Linked DNA regions of Homo sapiens: regions 1, 3 and 4 are each linked to region 2. Evidence: promoter capture Hi-C in 16 types of primary human blood cells and fetal thymus (Javierre and others, 2016). All regions are on one chromosome and are shown on one strand. Each heading gives the region's core, a stretch centred on a gene start or on the middle of the fragment in contact. The rest is flanking DNA. Distances are from core to core; before and after follow the strand shown. Region 1 overlaps SPAG1 (sperm associated antigen 1). Region 2 holds the start of ZNF706 (zinc finger protein 706). Region 3 has its middle 39 kb from the start of RRM2B. Region 4 has its middle 55 kb from the start of RNF19A.

What was found. Contacts are between HindIII fragments. The CHiCAGO score rates a contact against its expected background, and 5 or more counts as called.
Region 1: a contact is called between a fragment that was not itself captured here and the fragment with the promoter of ZNF706 in region 2, in 1 of 17 cell types (neutrophils). The highest score is 6.8, in neutrophils.
Region 3: a fragment that was not itself captured here is called in contact with the fragment with the promoter of ZNF706 in region 2 in 1 of 17 cell types (endothelial precursors); the score reaches 5.5 in endothelial precursors.
Region 4: a fragment that was not itself captured here is called in contact with the fragment with the promoter of ZNF706 in region 2 in 1 of 17 cell types (neutrophils); the score reaches 5.1 in neutrophils.

What each region holds. Positions count from the first base shown.
Region 1 is chr8:100,209,806-100,212,505 of GRCh38, reverse strand. The region is part of intron 10 of SPAG1 (sperm associated antigen 1); the gene reads right to left. Among named protein-coding and RNA genes, the nearest start is that of SPAG1, 53 kb to the right of the region's middle. The HindIII fragment of the contact is 2,224 bases long and covers 194-2,417 here.
Region 2 is chr8:101,204,266-101,206,965 of GRCh38, reverse strand. ZNF706 (zinc finger protein 706) reads left to right here and starts at 1,293. Exons shown (of 4, transcript NM_016096.5): 1 at 1,293-1,531. RefSeq lists silencers at 729-948, 1,159-1,758. The HindIII fragment of the contact is 4,829 bases long and covers 1-2,700 here.
Region 3 is chr8:102,198,251-102,200,950 of GRCh38, reverse strand. No RefSeq gene overlaps it. Among named protein-coding and RNA genes, the nearest start is that of RRM2B, 39 kb to the left of the region's middle. The HindIII fragment of the contact is 2,431 bases long and covers 94-2,524 here.
Region 4 is chr8:100,253,933-100,256,632 of GRCh38, reverse strand. No RefSeq gene overlaps it. Among named protein-coding and RNA genes, the nearest start is that of RNF19A, 55 kb to the left of the region's middle. The HindIII fragment of the contact is 5,674 bases long and covers 1-2,700 here.

The DNA of each region.
Region 1 (2,700 bases), core at 56-2,555, 990 kb after region 2:
TCAAACTAAAAATTTCTTTGATTTTGATTAGGAGTTCAGGTATTAATAGCTTTAATAATTGTTGAATCTATTTTTAAATATAAAAAGGATGTGTAAATATTTAATTTATGGTGTCTTAGCAATATTTAAAACAAAGCAATTAATCATTTCACAGCACCGTTAAAAAGTACTTAAATATAGAGATTTCCAAGCTTTCTCTTTTAACGAATTCTTATCTGATTCTTAATGGATATATTTTCCATTCTTTTTCATGAATGGTAAAGCCAAGATTTTAAGCACAGAGACAGAGGGAATAGAAAAGCACAATTATTTAAGTGAAAATCAGTGGATGATCACCTTAAGACAAGCATCAAGTATAAAAACACATTAATAAATACTGTTTTCTATACAGCAGAATAACATCCAATTTGGATCACCAGCCAAAGGGATCTTAATTATTAAAACAATAAAAAGATTTTGCTATAAAGATAAATCTGCAGATTAAACCCAGTAGGGTTATTAGAGTAAGGCTCCAGTTTTAATCTGGTTTCTGTCAATCAGGTTCTCCACCAGAAACTGGGTGAAAGCACAAAAGTCAGGGTCGGCAGAAACAATGGTCAGCTTGGTATTACTTTCCACCCCTTTGCACAGTATCCCCTCGGGTCTGACCAATGCTATCACTAAAGAGCTGCAGTTCATTTAGAACTTGATATGGATCACATTAATCCTAATACCAAGTATTATCATTCCCACTTTACAAATGAGGCAACAGAGAAACAAGAAGCTAAGGAATGCGCTCTAGTACACAGAGCTAGAAGCCAGCATAACTCGGACTTGTTTTTATTTTTATTATTTGTTTGTATTTATTTTGACACAGGGTCTTGCTCTATTGCCCAGGGTGGAGTGCAATGGTGCCATCATAGCTCACTGCAGCCTCAACCTCTGGGGCAGGCAATCCTCCCCTTAGCTTCCAGAGCAGCTGGGACTACAGGTGAGAGCCAGCCACCATGCCTGGCTAATGTTTAAAATTTTTTATACAGATGAGGCCTTGCTATGTTGTCCAGGATGGTCTCAAAGTCCTGGTCTCAAGCAGTCCTCTCTCCTTGGCCTTCCAAAGTCCTGGGATTGCAGGCATGAGCCACTGTGCCCAGCCATAACCCAGATTTGAACTGAATGCAAAGCATTCTTACCTTAAGATTGAAATGGCTCTGAACAACTTTGATAGTCTCTGGACAGGTAAACAGAGGCCCAAACATGAAAGACTTGTGAGTTCTGTTGGGTGTTGGGATACCCGTGGGACAATGCAATGGAGCTGTTCAGAGGGTGGCTCTACATGTAGATCAGAGAAGTGGCCTTATCCAGAGACAGTGACTTGGGAGTTACTAATATATAAAAGTTTGGGGCCGGGCACGGTGGCTCATGCCTGTAATCCCAGCACTTTAGGAAGCTGAGGCAGGCAGATCACAAGGTCAGGAGTTCGAGACCACCCTGGCCAACATGGTGAACCCTGTCTCTACTAAAAATACAAAAATTAGCTGGGCATGGTATCAGGTGCCTGTAATCCCAGCTACTCAAAAGGCTGAGGCAGGAGAATCATTTGGACCCCGGGAGGTGGAGGTTGCAGTGAGCCAAGATCACACCATTGCACTCCACCCTGGGCGACAGGGCAAAACTCCATCTCAAAAAAAAAAAAAAGTTTGGGTGTGGAACTGGCAAGGTGGCTCACCCCTATAATCCTAGCACTCTGGCAGGCTGAGGCAGGAGGATTGCTTGAGGCCACTAGTTTGAAGCAAGCCTGGGCAACATAGCAAGACTCCATCTCTACAAAAAATAAAAATAAAAGTTTGGATGTGGATGGGATCACTCAAAGGCTCATAAGGATCCCTGAGATATACTAACACTTAAAGGATGAAGAGAGGAAAAATCTACAGTGTAGGCACAGAAATGCCTAGAAATGAGAGAAAAAAACAGGAGCGCATACTGCCTCAGAAACACCAAGAGTAGTTTGGGAAGAAAGGAGTCAACAATAACAACTATCAAAGGAATGAATGGCCAACAGTGTAGCCTCAAGTAGGGTAGTGTGAGTAGTTGATAGACCAAAAATCCTCAGCAAAATACTAGCGAACAGATTCAACAGCATACTGAATGGATTATACACCATGGCCAAGTGGGATTTATCCCAGGAATACAAAGGTAGTTCAGCATTAGAAAATCAATCAATGCCAACACACCTCATTAACAGAAAAAGTAAAGAATTGCATACATGATCCCACAATTGATGCTGAAAAGGCATGACAAAATCCAACATGCTTTCATGATTTAAAAAAAAAAAAAACTCAGAAAACTAGGAATAGAAGTGAAATTCCTCAACATAATAAAGTATATTTATGAAAAACCCAGAGCCAACATCATATTCAAAGATAAAAGTAATGAAAGCTTTCCCTTAAACATCAGCAACAAGACAAGGATGCCCATTTTCACCACGGCTATTCAACACTGTACTAAAAGTTGTAGACTGATCAATTAGGCACTAAAATGAAATAAAAGGCATCCAAATTGGAAAGAAAGTAAAAGTATCTCTATTCATAATTATATGATCCTATTTATATTAAAAAAAAAGAATCCACCCCCTTCACCACCCCCACCAAAAAAAACTAGAGCAATAAACAAATTTAGCTAAGTTGTAGGGTATAAGATCAACAAGCCAAAATCAGTGTTTCT
Region 2 (2,700 bases), core at 44-2,543:
TTTGTCACTAGTAGTTCTAATTAGAAACGAATGTGGCGGGGGTCGGGGGTAAGTATGCACAATAAAGCTGATGTCTAAAGTACTGTTTCCAGATATTCAGCAATTTTAATCATGGTTATAATCGCCATTGCTCTTGTCAGATATTGAAAGTTTGCTGCCACTGCCTGTAAATGGAGAGAGAGCGCGCGCAAAGAACTTTAACCATTCCCCGAAGGATTAGCAACTCAGTACCGTATATTGTTAGCAGTCAAACTAAACCCCTCCGGGAAGCCTGGCCAGCAATTTTTTTTTCTTTTTTTGTTTTTTTTTTTTTTTAGGCAGGGTCTCACTCAGTCGCCCAGGATGGAGTGCAATGGCGCGATCTCGGCTTACCGCAACCTTCACCTCCCGGCCTCAAGCGATTCTCCCACCTCAGCCTCCCGAGTAGCTGGGACTACAGGCGCGGGCCACCATGCTCCACTATTTATTTTATTTTATTTTATTTTTGTGGAGACGTGGGTCTCGCTATGTACTCAGGCTGGTCTGGAACTCCTGGGCTCAAGTGATCCTCCTGCCTTGGGCTCCCAAAGCGCTGAGATTACAGGCGTGAGCCACCGCGCCCGGCCTAGCCAGCAATTTTTAATACGACTTAGGCTTGAATCTTGAACTCACTAAAAGCCCCCAGCTTGGGAAAACACCTGGGGTTTCCATGGGAGTGAGGTAAAGGGCGGCTGTGAAAGAACAAAGGCTGTGCGTCCGCGTTCAGAGCCGCTGGGTCCGCCGGGCTCGCTGGGGGCCGGGGCCGCGGTGTCCTGGGTGGCGGGGCTCCGGGAATGTGACTCAGCCACCGCGGCCCCGCGATCCGCTCCCGGGCCAGCGCCTCAGTCGGTGCCGAGGAGGGCGGCGCCGAGACGGGCGCGTCAGCCTGGGAGGAGCGGGAAAAGGGTCGCAGCGCCTGAGGCCCGGCCGCCGCCCGAGTGGATGAGCGAGCGAGCGACTTGTGAAACACGCCGCGGCCCGGTCACCAACCAGGACCGGGATCACGTGGCTCCCAGGGCTGGGTGAAGAAGCCGCCCGGACCGAGCGCGCCGGAGAGGAGGGGCGCCTGGGGACAGAAGGCGACGTCCCCTGAAGTTTGTGTCAGCCAGGGCCCGCCCCCTCGCGCTTATGTAATAGGGGCGCGCTGCCATTGGCCCGCGCGACCAGCCAGGGCGCAGGCGTGCGAGCGGGGTGGGGGCCAGAAGGAGGCAGCCGCAGAAAGGCACATGGGCGGGGCTGCGAGGAGCAGGCGGGGCGGGGGCGCCGAGGAGAGCGGCGCGGCGTGCGCGGGCACGAGGCGTAGTGGTCTCCCCTAAGGCTGAGGCGGCGGCGGGCGCGCGGCGGCGGCGGGCGTGCGAGGCTGTTGTGCTCCCGGCTCTCGTGTTTCCCCTCCTGAGCGGGTGGAGGAGGCCCAAGCGGTGCTGGGCGCGCTCCCCCTTCCTTTCCCTCCGGCGTCCTCTCCCGGCCCTCTCGCGCTGCACTGTCTCTCCGACGCAAGACTGTCCCGGCCCGGGTGAGCGGCAGCGGGGGCGGTGCTGACGCCGCGGGACGCCCGGGAAACGGGGCGGGGGCCGGCCAGCGGGGGGCGGTGGGGACCGTGGGACTCGCCGCGGGTCGCGAGGGGTCGCGGGGGGCGGCAGGGCCCGGCCCGGGGCGGGCCGCGGGAAGGGGATGAGTTCGGGCGCCTGCCAGGCCCTGCAGGTGGCCGGGTCGCAGGCCAGCCGCGGAAGCGGAGCGGTAACCTTACCCCCGGCGACAGCCGCCGGTCAGCTGCCAGAGTGTGGCGCTCCCGGTGGACGCAGGGGCCGGGTTTCGGGCAGTCTCGGCCTCCAGGAGGCGCGTCTTGGTCCAGGGTCCGTGAGGACTGGCTAGATGGGGGCTGCGTGGCCTTTGGTGGCAGGGAGGAGGAGGGGGTCTCCGAGGCGGGAGAGGCGGGTTTGGGAAGGAAGGTGCGCCAGGCTGAAGCTGGGGTCGGAGAAGTGTTGGGTGGAGACCTCACTGTGGGTGCGTTCCTCCTCTCCTCTCCCCAAAACGATGGTGTTAAAAGCTAGGGTCAGGATGTGGAGCGCTGCCTGGGCCTCTTCCTTTCCGATGGTTATGGAGAATGAGCCTACTTCCTGGACCCAAAATCCTTTTCTTCTGTTACTCATTTATGTTGGTTTTAAAAGGAGCTTTGGGGCAGAGCTTACTTGTTGCCTCCTACGAGAGCGCCTCATTTTAGAACTCGTTTCTTCCACTACTTCCCTCTTTGCAGCCCCCTCGGAAAACCACACTGAGAGTTGCATTAAAAACCAGCATGTAGGTATTTGTAAGTGACTTTTTCCCTCCAGTTTGTCGCATTTAATCAAGGAGCGGTTGTAGCTGCCTACGATTTTGTAGAAAATTGTGTTGGCTTGAGAGCAAGTCCTAAGTTGAGCTGTCCAAAAGCAGGTGGTTGGTTCGTTTGAATTTCTGCTTTCAGAAAGGAAATCGATGGGGCGTGTTGTCAGAAGTTAGGGGCCTACCTCATGCATTTAGCTTATTTTATTCCATTTCCTTTACCTGGTGTTAAGTTTTCTGTCTTCAGAATAAGAACAAGTGACTACTGTCTTTATTAAGTCTCTTCGGTCTTTTTGGTTGCTGTTTGGTGACAATGGAAAATGGGTTGAATCTATTGTGTAATGTTATATTTTAGGGAAAGTC
Region 3 (2,700 bases), core at 60-2,559, 990 kb before region 2:
CTCAATTGTCTGAGTAATGGTCAAAGGCCATGTTCTTTATAGTCTCTCATCAATAATGATAATGTCCAAGTTCTGACAGTAAAAGTGTAAGCTTCACTGTATCTTGGAAGATTTATTTCTCAGGAAATTAATAAATATTTATGCATACTTTAGAGTTTACAAGGTGATTTTGCAGTCATACCATTGCAATAATTTCATTGGCTCACCAATTTTATGAGAAATTGCTGTCATAATAATATCATTATTATTATGATAACAATGATATTTGGGACTTGAAGCTCAGAGAAGTTAAGTTCCTGTCCAAAGTCACACAACTAGTAAGGGGTAGAGGCATGACCCCAACCCAGGCATCATGGTTTAAATCGCATCATCTTTTCACTGAGTGCACCCAAATTTCTATTGCTAGCTGGTGGAAGTCAAGATGATTTTTTGGTGGGATACGATCCCTTTGAGCTACACACCCTCCATAACACACTCCATTGGCAGGTGTCAATTTAGAGCTTCATTTGTCCGTCTCAAGGTCATGCGGCATGGCTTGCTGAGAATTGTGTTTGAGCATCACTTCATGACTGGAATGGCAATAATGTTTGAAGACATTGGGACTGCAAGGGCAGTTGATACTTGTTTTTTAATTACATCTGGAAAATCTTCTTTGAAAAGTTTAGTTTGTTTGTTTGTTTGTTTTTGAGATGGAGTCTTGCTCTTTCGTCCAGTCTGGAGTGCAGTGGTGTGATCTCGGCTCACTGATCCCGGCTCTCTGCTTCCCAGGTTCAAGTGATTCTCCTGCCTCAGCCTCCCAAGTAGCTGGGATTACAGGCACATGCCACCATGCCCGGCTAATTTTTGTATTTGTAGTAGAGACACGTAGAGACAGGGTTTCACCATGTTGGCCAGGCTGGTCTCGAACTCCTGACCTCAAGTGATCTGCCCACCTCGGCCTCCCAAAGTGCTGCAGTTACAGGTGTGAGCCACCACGCCTGATCCTGAATAGTTTTTTTTTTTTAAGTAAAATAATTTAAAAACGTTAAGAAAAGAAATAGTACAGGTGAAACTCACAATGGCATGTCCGGCCAGTGGCTGCATATGACAAATTTTGGAAACCTGAGAACACATCACGTGGTCTACTGTGTAAAATGTTAGATGCTGCTCAAAAAATTTAGAGGAGTTTTCCAAGAAGTCTTGCCCAGAACTTAGGGTAATAAATTGGTGGCAAATAAAGATATGCTTGCTTCAATTTATTTAAATTCCAGACTGATATGTTTCGGATTTGTGGACCCGCCCGAATCTCATGTTGAATTGTAATCCCCAGTGTTAGAGGAGGGGCCTATTGGGAGGTGATTGGATCAAGGGGGCCAACTTCCGCCTTGCTGTTCTCATGATAGTGAGTGAGTTCTCACGAGATCTGATCGTTTAAAAGTGTGTAGCACTTCCCACTTTGCTCTCTTCCTCCTACTCCGGCCATGTGAGATATGCCTGCTTTCCCTTCACCTTCTGCTGTGATTGAAAGTTTCCTGAGGCCTCCCAAGCCATGCTACCTGTACGGCCTGAGGAACCGTGAGTCAGTTAAGCCTCTTTTCTTTATAAATTAACAAGTCTCAGTTTCTTTATAGCAGTGCGAGAACGGACTAATACACAGACCATAGGTAGCACCTGTTTCTAATTCCTGCTGTCTGGTGGTTTGGATCTGTTGGAGCCAAAAGTCTCAGAGAACTTGGACTGCCCTTCATACAGTTCTCCAAGAGACAGAGTCTAACCAGCTAAAGGCAACATCCAGATACATCTCTGAGGAAAGAGACTGGTAAAAAATTATTCCAAGCATATCTTTTGTGTGTGATAAAATTCATCATCTACTCATTTCCAGGGACTCAGCTTTGTCAATGGGCACCAGAGTTCAACATAGGAAGTTTTTCTCCACCTCCAGATTTTTCCCTGCTCCTACATCCTTTCCTGGCTAGTCTCTGTGTGCTCATGGCTCTCTGTACTTATGACCGCTGTGGCACATGGTATACTGAAATTGTAACTGAGCCGCTTTAAGGTAGGGACCATGCTCTTTACGTTTTTATTGTCCTGCATTACTTGTAGCAGGTGCTCAGTATTTCTGCAATGAATGAATGGATGAGGTGACAATGATAATTAGCTGAAACAAGAAGCCTGGTGTCATGTAATCAAAATAAGCTGGTGGTTAGAATCCATCATTTATAGAGCACATGTAACTCAGATTCTTACATATGTTATCTCATTTAGTGCTCTTAACAATCCTATAGGGAAAGTATTTTTTTCCTCCTTCCCTCCACAAATATTTATTGTCTTCTAAGTGCCAGGCACTGTGTTAGGTAATGGAGATAAAACCGTGGACAAGACAGACACAATGTCTGCCCTCTGAGTGGGGTCAACACATAAATGAGAAAAGGAAATAAAACATTTCTCTCATTTTCAAGATGAGTTTCAGAGAGGTTCTGCTCCTTGTTTAAAGTGATACAGATAGATCCAGATTTCTGTCCCAGTTCTAATTGATACCAAAGCTTATGCTTTCCCCAGAATCCCCCAGTCACCTCTAATTGGCAGAGAGTTCCAACCCATCTCAAAGGGCTGGTGGCCTGGGATGGGGGTGGGGGTGGTGAGAGCTGGTAGCTGCAGGAGTGATCTGGCCCCAGGGGAGAAGCCAGCAGATGTGAGGGTCAGACGCTGCAGCAGCTGGGA
Region 4 (2,700 bases), core at 193-2,692, 950 kb after region 2:
ATTCAAGCTAATTGTAATCAGATGCTTTCTATTCTTGTAGCTTCTGTAAAATGCATAGATGGTTTTTCTGTTTCCCTGGTATATAGTTAATGCTTCATGAAAATAATCTTTTTTTTTTTTTGAGATGGAGTCTCACTTTGTAGCCCAAGCCTCGAGTGCAGTGGTGCGATCTCAGCTCACTGCAACCTCCGCCTCCTGGGCTCAAGCAGTTCTCGTGCCTCAGCCTCCCAAGTAGCTGGGATTACAGGCAAACATCACCACGCCCGGCTAATTTTTTTGTGTGTTTTAGTAGAGACGAGGTTTCGCCATGTTGCCCAGGGTGGTCACAAACTCCTGAGCTCAAGTGATCCACCCACCTCGGCCTCCCAAAGTCCTGGGATTACTGGCGTGAACCACCATGCTCGGCCAAAATAATCTTATGAATATGTTGACTGCCTTGTTGACATTTCTTTAAAAGGCTAAAGATGAAATGGAAAGCTAAATGATCTTCAGAGGAATACAGCAAAAATAGTGCCCTATAGGAGGCTGGTGCATTCATTCACCCTACACCTACTTCTGGTGATACTCCCAACCAGTACCACTTCAGTCTCACCTTAAAACTAGCTTCAAAAATTCCTTGTCTCCTGGACCTTTCAACTAGCTTCAGAAATTCCTTGTCTCCTGTATCCTTCAAAGTTGGATTAATTTAGGACCAAGCCAGTTTTCCCTGGAACTCAACTCTGGGCTAGCCTTGAACAAGAGATACCTCCAGGGTATTCAAAATAAACCTTAACTCACTGAAATCTTGTTAAAACTCTTTGTACTTTAAAGCCTGTTGGAAAAATCATCTGGTAATGAGAGAAAAGAAATACAAAGATTATAATAGTATATCCTACTGTTGATTATGTAGACCACCAATTTAACTGGTAGATTCACTTCATTGTACAAATTCCCAGCTTCAGAGCACTTAATTAGTTAGCTTTTTATATTAAATGCACATAATCCACCACTCCTAACTTATTTTTCCTGGAAATTGTGTTAATTTGTAAACATGTAAGACTTTCCCTAGCCTGTTATTTAGGTAAACATATAGACAAATCACCAAAGGATAAAGTATGTGTTGAAAACTATCGGAGCTATTAATTGCTACATGACATGAGCAAAAGAAACTCCTGCTCCATAGATTGTTTTGCCTTTCCATTCACAGTCATCACGCTTCTTACAGATTCTAGTCTGTACTTGGATCTAAGGAAAAAAATTCTTTTCTCAAGGCTGCATTTCATATGGTTCCTTTTAATGGATTTGTTGTTTCATTTATTTCCTTCACTAGAGCATGAGATATCATTGCTTAACAGCCAGTGTTTACATACTGGTTGATTTTTGAATGCCAAAAATAGTATTCTAAACTTGGGGAGAGTTATGTTATTTAGGGTGGCTATTATTTAATAGCTGGATATGAAAAAGTTTGCAGTTTTAAAATTTAGTTCAGATTGGATCACTGTACATCATATGCTAGTCAGAATTTTTGTGACTTCTACCAATTTATTCGTTCAACAAAGTAGATGCTGGAAATACAGCATAGTACCAAATAAACAAACACCCTGGCTTCAGAGGGCTTGTATTAGAATTTGGAGGATACAAAAATAATAAACATATGCATGTAGCTTAAAATAATGGAACGAGATGTAAAATAACCAGATGATGATTGCTATGAAAAATTAGAGGTGGGCACAATAAGAGTGACTGGGATTTTGGGGAAGCAGTACTGTTTTATACAGGGCAGAACAGGAAAAGTCTCTAGAAGACATTTGTCCCAAGATCTAAAGGAAATGAAGGAACCATGTAAAAACATACCTGGTGAATGAGCATTTTCAGAAACATCTCCAAGGTGAGTTAGTGGACAATTTAGACATCAGTCTTGGAATCTGAATTTGCTATCTAATAGGGCAAGTCTGCCACTGTTTTTTCCTTGGATGGTGTCTTGACTGTCCTTGGCACTTTATATTTCCATAAACATATTAGAATAACCTTGTTGTGTTTCACTAATTTTGATTGGGATTACATTGAATCTATAATTATCCCCATAGAATTCTTTTACATCTTTTGTTAAATTTCATTCCCAGGTACTTGATATTTTTTATCCTATAATGTATATTTTTAAAATGTCATTTTCTTTCTTTCTTTTTGAGAAAGAGTTTCATTCTTGTTGCCCAGACTGGAGTGCAGTGGTGCGATCTCAGCTCACTGCAACCTCTGCCTCCTGGGTTCAAGTGTTTCTCCTGCCTCAGCCTCCTGAGTAGCTGGGATTACAGGTGTCCCACCACCACGCCCAGCTAATTTCTTGTATTTTTAGTAGAGAAGGGGTTTCGTTATGTTAGCCAGGCTGGTCTCAAACTCCTGACCTCCAGTGATCCACCTGCTTCGGCCTCCCAAAGTGCTGGGATTACAGGCATAAGTCACCACGCCCAGCCTCATTTTCTGTTTGTAACTAATAGTATAGAGAAATGCCATTGATTTTGTATTAACAATTTTGTATCTGGTGAATCTTACTCTTTTAATTCCAATGGTTTATCTCCAGATTCTTTGGGATATCACTGTACAATTATCACTTGTGAATGTTTGTATTAAACACTTTTACAGTGCTTTGAAGTGTGAAATACTTTCCGAGCACTTTTAAAATAGTAACTTATGGAAAAGCAAACAATAAAAGAAAAATATAAC